2 separate regions of the Homo sapiens genome follow, and region 2 is linked to region 1. Evidence: promoter capture Hi-C in human tissues and cell types (Jung and others, 2019). All regions are on one chromosome and are shown on one strand. The core of a region is centred on a gene start or on the middle of the fragment in contact, and the rest is flanking DNA. Distances in the headings are between cores, read along the strand shown.

Evidence for each region. The method cuts DNA at HindIII sites, captures the fragments that hold promoters and counts their contacts. A contact is called where the count stands out against the background at its distance.
Region 2: a contact is called between a fragment that was not itself captured here and the fragment with the promoter of HHIPL1 in region 1, in 1 of the 25 tissues and cell types used here (pancreas).

Annotation. Positions count from the first base shown.
Region 1 is chr14:99,642,992-99,646,602 of GRCh38, reverse strand. It overlaps HHIPL1 (HHIP like 1), which reads right to left and starts at 1,474. Exons shown (of 9, transcript NM_001127258.3): 1 at 1,141-1,474. The coding sequence starts at 1,395. The HindIII fragment of the contact is 28,378 bases long and covers 1-3,611 here.
Region 2 is chr14:101,521,984-101,525,706 of GRCh38, reverse strand. It overlaps LOC105370673 (a long non-coding RNA gene), which reads left to right. Exons shown (of 7, transcript XR_944222.2): 5 at 570-690; 6 at 2,303-2,488; 7 at 2,898-3,723. Among named protein-coding and RNA genes, the nearest start is that of DIO3OS, 37 kb to the left of the region's middle. RefSeq lists enhancers at 1-426, 2,375-2,905, 2,906-3,437. The HindIII fragment of the contact is 3,867 bases long and covers 535-3,723 here.

The DNA of each region.
Region 1 (3,611 bases), core at 225-2,724:
GAGTTTCGCCATGTTGGCCAGGCTGGTCTCGAACTCCTGACCTCAAGTGATCTGCCCACCTTGGCCTCCCAAAGTGCTGGGATTACAGGCATAAGCCACCATACTCAGCTTCATTTTAAAGATATTGTGAGGTGCAGCAGTGACCTGCCCAGGTCACGAAGCTGGGGAAGTGACAGAGCCAGGATCAAACTCCAACTCCAAGTCAGCCTTCTTGCCCTTCCCCACACCACCTGCCCCTGCTGGCCGAAGGCTGGGACACGGCCCTGGCCCCTGGGGCCTCTCCACCCCAGGCCTCTCACTGCCCAGATGCTGAGGCAGGAATGCCTTGGGGCTGCCCGTCCTGCTCCATTTCTGCATTCAGCCAGGCAACATTTGCCCACTTGGGTGTGGTCAGGCCCTGGGGCCTCAGACTCCCACAAGAGGAAAACAAATAGCGGTGGCACCACCAGGTGTGCACAGAAGCAGGGGCTCCACCCTCAGAGGGAAGATGGGGGGCCCAGGGGCTTCAACAAAGAGCTGTCGCTCAGTCTTGAGAGAGCTTCTGCAGGCCAGGGCGCCATCCCCAGGAGAGGGCACAGCACCCACAGAGGTGGTGGCGGAAGTGGCAAGGGCATCAGGATGGGGGTGAGACGCTCGTGGGGGACAGTGGCCCCAACCCCCTCAACAAACCCGGGCCACACGTTGACCACGCCCACGCCAGGGCCCCCTGCTTTCACTGCCCCGGGGACAACACAAAGGAGCACTGACCGGGACAGATGCCTCTCCACCTTGGTACCCCGACAAGGGTGCAGCTGCTCGGGGTGGGACGCTGAGGGGTCGACTCCAGGGGACTGGGGCAGAAGAGCCCCCAACCTCTGAGGAAATGATGACATCATCTGTCCGTCCGTCCGTCCTTCCTGCTTCAGGAGGGGAAACTGAGGCCCCGAGAAGGCCCAAGTCACAAAACTAATGAATGGCAAAGCCAAGAGTCGTCCTGGGATGCGCGGTCTCCCCGCCCCGTGCCAAATGACTCCCTGTTGGGGCTTAGAGTTCCCGAGTCCGCCGCCCACTCTTGGCCCTCGCCCCCGCGGGGTTCCGATCTCTGCTCCAGGACTCGGCCTCCCGCGCCCCGCCCCGCCCGGTGGCCGCGCGCCCGCTCACCTGGCACAGCAGGTCCCTCGCGTAGCCGGCGCACGCGGCCCACTCGGCGGCGTCCACGCGGCTCGCCAGGGCCCAGAAGCGGCGGGTCAGCTCGGCGTCGCGCCCCTCATCGCAGCAGCCGAAGTCCGAGTACTGCGCGCAGAGGCGCAGCGGCTGCGTCGGCCGGAAGGGCGGCCTGAAGTCCAGGCACTGCGGATGCGCGGCGGCCCCGAGCACCCAAAGCGCCAGCAGCGCCCCGGCCCTGGCCCGGGCCATCGCTACGCCCCGCGGGGGAAGAGGCGGAGGGACGGCAGCCCCGGTCCCCTCCCGGGGCGCTCGCGGCGGCAGGGAAGGGGCGGGCGCTCCCCTTCCCTACACGCAGGGCCTCGAGTTTGGGGACCTCCCCTTCTAGGAGGTCACCTCTGGTCGGGGACACTCGGCGGGACTGAAGGAAGAGGGACGCGGCGCAGAATGCGGCACGACCTCTTTTAACCGCTTTCCAAATTCGATGGGAGTGGCCCGGTCTGTTTAAAGCCCCGGTGTGTTTTCCCGGTTCCGCCTGGGGCCCTGCTTCCTCCCCACAGGGCGCTCTTTAGCCAGGGAGGCGCAGGGCCAGAGGCCTGGACTCCTGGGCTTCGGTTCCACCTCCCACTGGGCTAGGGAAACGGATGCCCGCAGCCCGTCCCCGAAAGCTCCCACGTAACATTTTAAAAATGGGGGTGCGAGGGAAAGAACAGGGGGTGTTGCCCCAGGACTCTCAGGGAGAAGTGAAACCTGGCGTAGGGGTGGGGAGGGAGGACGGAGCAGTCTCCGCAGTCCACCCTTTGCCCTTACTGTGGGCTTCTTCCCAGTCTCTGCTCCTGGGGCAGCGGATTCTCCTGCAGCCCAGGACCCACTGGGGCTCCCCACTTCCACTCTCGCATAGGGAGCACTGATGAATCTACCTCCTGGGATGGGCATCCAGCCCTTTGTTCCGCTGCCCCCGCTGGAGATTCAGACCCAACCCCGCCCCACCCCCCCACACACATACAGACGCACACACGCTGTCTTACCTACCCCAGAATCTCATGGCACCAAAACCACCCACACAGACAAACACACACACACTGTCTCACCTACCCTAGAATCTCACAGCACCAAAACCACCCAGGCATTTTTCTCAAGTGGACCTCAGCGTTTGCTTCTCCCTGGAGTGTCCTTCCCCATCTTCTCTGTCCAGTGAGCTCCTACTCCATCTTCATGGCCCCAACGCACACATCCGTCCTCTGCAGGTCTCTTTGGACTGTCCTGGGGGATCATGTTTCTGTCTTTGGGCCCATGCTCCTGGCAGAGCTGGGGGTGGATGAGATGCGGCAGGGCTGGAGCACTCAGAGGTCTGTGGCTCTGGCCTGAACAGGTGCAGTGTAAGAGTCAGGGTCTCCGCACAGCCAAACATCTCTGAGTATTTGAAACACGGGGAATTTAACGCAGGGACTTGAAGCCAAAGAGGCTAAGAAGCCATACAGGGCTCAGTGAAGTAACCTTGAGATCAGCAACAGTAGGAACAGTCCCCAGGTCCTTGATGCAGGAAGAGCAGATGTTACTGGAGCCAAGGAGCTATGGTCACCTTGTCAAAGCTGGACCCTCACAAGGCCTGTCTGGCCACAGCTGGAGATAGCCACTGTCAGAGATTCTGCACAGACAGAGGAGGAGAAATACCCCGGCTTCTCCCTGCCACTTCCCCTCCAACTCCCACCTGTGGCTTTCATTGGCTGAACCTAGCAGAGGGCTGCTAGGGTGGGAAATGCGGCCTGCAACGGCTTCCTGCACAGACAGCTGGGAATAGGCAGAGCCAGGATGGAATCGGAGGGCACGATGGCGCCTACTTCCCAGCTGGGACTCAGAACTGGGTGATAGTCACACATCAACACAGGGCTCCAGATGAGTGTACAGAGGTGGAAGTGACACAGAGCCTGGGCCACAGCCATGAGGTTTGGGCTCCTACAGCCACAGAAAATGTCAAACACAGCCCAGCCCCAGCCAGAGTAACATAAATCCTCACCCTAATACCTATTTACCTCGGTTTCTGTTATCTAGTACATCCTGATTGGCTTTCCAGAAAAACAACAAGGCATGAAAAAAAGATAAGAAAAGTCACAGTCAGGAGCCGGGCACAGTGGCTCACGCCTGTAATCCCAGAACTTTGGGAGGCTGAGGCGGGCGGATCACCCGAGGTCAGGAGTTCGAAACCAGCCTGGTCAACATGGTGAAATCTCGTCTCTACTAAAAATACAAAAATTAGCCAGGCGTGGTGGCACGCGCCTATAATCCCAGCTACTGGGAGGCTGAGGCATGAGAATCGCTTGAACCCAGGAGGCGGAGGCTGTAGTGAGCTGAGATCGTGCCATTGCACTCCAGCCTGGGTGACAGAGCGAGACTCTGTCTCAAAAAAGAAAAAAAAAAGTCAGTCAGAAGGAGCATCAGAGCCAGCCTGGGACATGACACAGATGCTG
Region 2 (3,723 bases), core at 1,219-3,718, 1.9 Mb before region 1:
CACCGCAACGGCAGCACGAACCCAGTGGCACTGGTGGAAGGGGCCCGGGGGAGACTCCTCTGCCAACCTTTTTGTGCTGGCGAGGTGTGGCTGGAGTGGGGACTCTCCCCTGCCCCCGCCAGCTCCTGCCCACCCTCTTCATGGAGCTGAAGTCACCCTTGCACAAGGAATCAGCCCTGCCACCAGAACCGGCAGCCTGGGGCTGACTCCCACCCACAGGGCACCTTGTTTCCCAGGGGATGGCTTCCTGGTCCCCAGCTCAGCTGGAGGCAGACCCAGAGGAGCCCAGCTTGGTGCCGGATGCTTCTCCTTGAGGGGGAGTGTGGGGTCTGACCGCAGAGAGAAGCTGGGGGCTGGGTACCCGCATCTGCCTCTCTTTCCCGGCTGGGGGCCCTTGGGCATGCTCCCCTCTTGGGGCCTCTGCAAAGTGGTGGTTGAGAAGACCGATGAAAGAAGGTGGGCTCTGACCACACATCAGAGCCTCAGGGAGCCACCCCTTCGCAGTCCCCTTCTTAAACAGTCTCATACTTATGGCCACTTAATTATATGTATAACTGTTTCTTAAATAGTCTCTTCCTCACCAACGTGTAAGTTCCAGAGGTCAAGGATGGTGCCTGCGTGGAATCCCTGTGTGTCCCAGGAACACGCACCTGGTCAATGAATAAATGAATGAGCCATGCATGCTTGCAGGTGAGTCGGCCCCGTCACTCACTGCAGGCTCACTCACCTTCCTCTAGCCTGGGTTTTGGGCTTGGAGAACGGTCGCAGTGTCTTCACAGACTCAAACACTTAGGTCGGTGCAAAATTCATTGCGGTTTTTGCCGTTGAAAGTAATGGCAAAGGCCGGGCGCGGTGGCTCACGCCTGTAATCCCAGCACTTTGGGAGGCCGAGGCGGGTGGATCATGAGGTCAGGAGATCGAGACCATCCTGGCTAACAAGGTGAAACCCCGTCTCTACTAAAAATACAAAAAAAAAATTAGCCGGGCGCGGTGGCGGGCGCCTGTAGTCCCAGCTACTCGGGAGGCTGAGGCAGGAGAATGGCGTGAACCCGGGAAGCGGAGCTTGCAGTGAGCCGAGATTGCGCCACTGCAGTCCGCAGTCCGGCCTGGGCGACAGAGCGAGACTCCGTCTCAAAAAAAAAAAAAAAAAAAAAAAAAAAAAAAAATTAATGGCAAAAACCGCAATGATTTTTGCACCGACCTAAATACAACACTGTGTGTTTGTTGATCAGCTGAAGGAGAGCAGGACTGTTAGAAGAGGCACAACAGGGATCCCTAACTCACACAGGAGAGGAAATCTTAGGGGGATTTCCAGACGAGATGAAATCTGAGTTCATACTTAAGGAGGTGTTAGCATTAAACACACTCAGAAATAAGGAATCATCAGAGACAACAATTTGGCAAGCTTTTCTGAGGGTGCATGCAGGGCCTGGGTCTTGTGGCTGGGTCATGGGGCTCTGGGTCTGATGGGGAGACAGGCATGGATGCAGTGTAGCCTGGGGCTCCTTGCCAGCAGGAGTCAGAAGTCACCATTCACCGAGACTTCCCTTGGGAAGGCCAGAGATGGTAGAGAGGTTTTATCTTTTTTTTTTTTTTTTTTTTTTTTGAGACAGTCTTGCTCTGTTGCCCAGGCTGGCGTGCAGTGGCACGATCTCAGTTCACTGCAACCTCCACCTCCCAGGTTCAAGTGATTCTCCTGTCTCAGCCTCCTGAGTAGCTGGGATTACAGGCATGCACCACCACGCCTGGCTAATTTTTGTATTTTTAGTAGAGATGGGGTTTCACCATGTTGGCCAGCTGAGAGGTTTTATCTTATGTGTCATTTTTGATCCAATGGTTGCCCTGTACACTATGTGGAGAAGGATTCTGTTGTTTAATATGAGCTTAGTGAGAAAGATTGATTGGTGATTGATTGATGATGTCTGCCATGAGTACGGAGGGTACAAGCTAGGGCATGCATGCTGTAGGTTTAGTATTCCGGTTTCAAACTGTAGAGTGCAGAGTCTCAGGAAAAGATATTGGACATGACTGGGCTGAAACATCTTGTATTATGGAAGGGGAAACTGAGGCTCAGGGATGAGTAGGGACATCACAAGTCAACGGTAGAACAGGGCTCTCTTTCTTGCTGGCTGGGAGGCTGCCCCCGTCAGCAGAGGGATCTCAGGTGGGTCTGGAAGAGGTGGTTTTGGGAGTTCCAGCCCCCCCACTTGCAGCTGCATGAATGGGGCAAGTCATGTCAACTCTCCAACCTCATTTGTACAATGGGGTTGATTAGGGCTAAAAGAGACCCTTCGTTCTATAGGTGTTTGTGGAGTGTTTGTTACTGGGCACACTTGTTGCTGGGATACACAGCTGAGCAAAACACAACCGGATCCTCCTGCACATTGCTTACAGGGAGACAAACTTTGCTCATATAATCACTCCTGAACAAGCAGAATCCAGTACACAGGTGGGCCCTGTGGAAGCACCGTCAAGGCCTTGCTGCATGGTAAGCATTAAAATACAGCCGCCACCGTGGCAGGATTCTTACTGTGGGGGTGTGCTGAGCCAGGGGTGAGGGCACTGGATGCAGCCCATCCCCACATTCCTGTGGGCCCCAGGGGGGCTACCTCCTCCTGGGGGAGGTGCCTTTCTCTAAGTATCACAGAGGCATCACAGGGGCTGGTGACTGCCTTAGTCGCTAACTGTGTGGTTGTTGCCTGTGAGATCCTGCCCCTCAGACAAGCTGAGCAAGATGGCCAGGTCAGATGGCTGCAGCGTCTATCTGGGAGAACATGTGGGGACCAGTTCTGTGGCGAGGGCCCTGGGTGGCCTTGGGGAAATGCTTTGTCTCTCTGGGCTTCCGTGTGCCCAAGTACAAGGGCACTGAGGCCTGACATGCACATATCTGGTGGCAGCCCTGTTAGGAGGAAGGCCCTGCCACCCCACACTGCCCCAAAGGAACACTTCCGGGATAGTGCAAGCATTCCTGGGATCTTCCTGGGCCCACGGCGCTGGGACCCTGCCCCAGACTCCACTGCTCACATTGTCACGAGCCGCAGCCCTCTCTGTGTGCCCACAACACCGGTTCTCAACTGGGCACAGCTCCTTCTCCTGGCTTTGCCTGGGCTGTGCTTTACACCTGAAGTGGAACCCCTGCCCTTCCATCCTGCTCTCCTTCGAGGCCTGCAGATGCCATGTCCTCCACACCTGAGGATTCTGGAGGCCGGCAGGGCTTCTGGACAAATCTGAGCACTTGCACTCTGGAGGCCCTGCCACAGTGGCTACTGCCCACCACGGACGATTCTGTAGACCCTGCTTAGAAGAGACTGGCCATCCAGAACAGCTCTGCTCCCACCCGGAGACTCAAGACTCCGCTCAGGAGTTCAGACTGTCTGGCAGCAGCTGTGGACTGCAGGGGTGATGGCCGTGGCTGGCACCTGAGGCTGCAGCTCTCAAGACCTTGGTCCGAAGGATGGGGGCTTCCACTCCCAACTGTGAGCTCACTTGCTGGGAAACTTGCCACACCCAGTGTCTGGACATCAGATGAACTTGCAGCCTCTTCCTTCCTTTCCCTTTCCGGTATTTTATTGGTGGAGGGCCATGGGCATCAGACATGTGGGTTTTGGGGAGGGAGGTAACGGCAGAGTGGGGTTGGTGAGTATCAGCCCCTCCTGCGAGCTGTGGGTGCTGCTGTGTGTTAGACATCCCTGCTAGCTCCCTGTCCCACATGAGCCCCCGGGT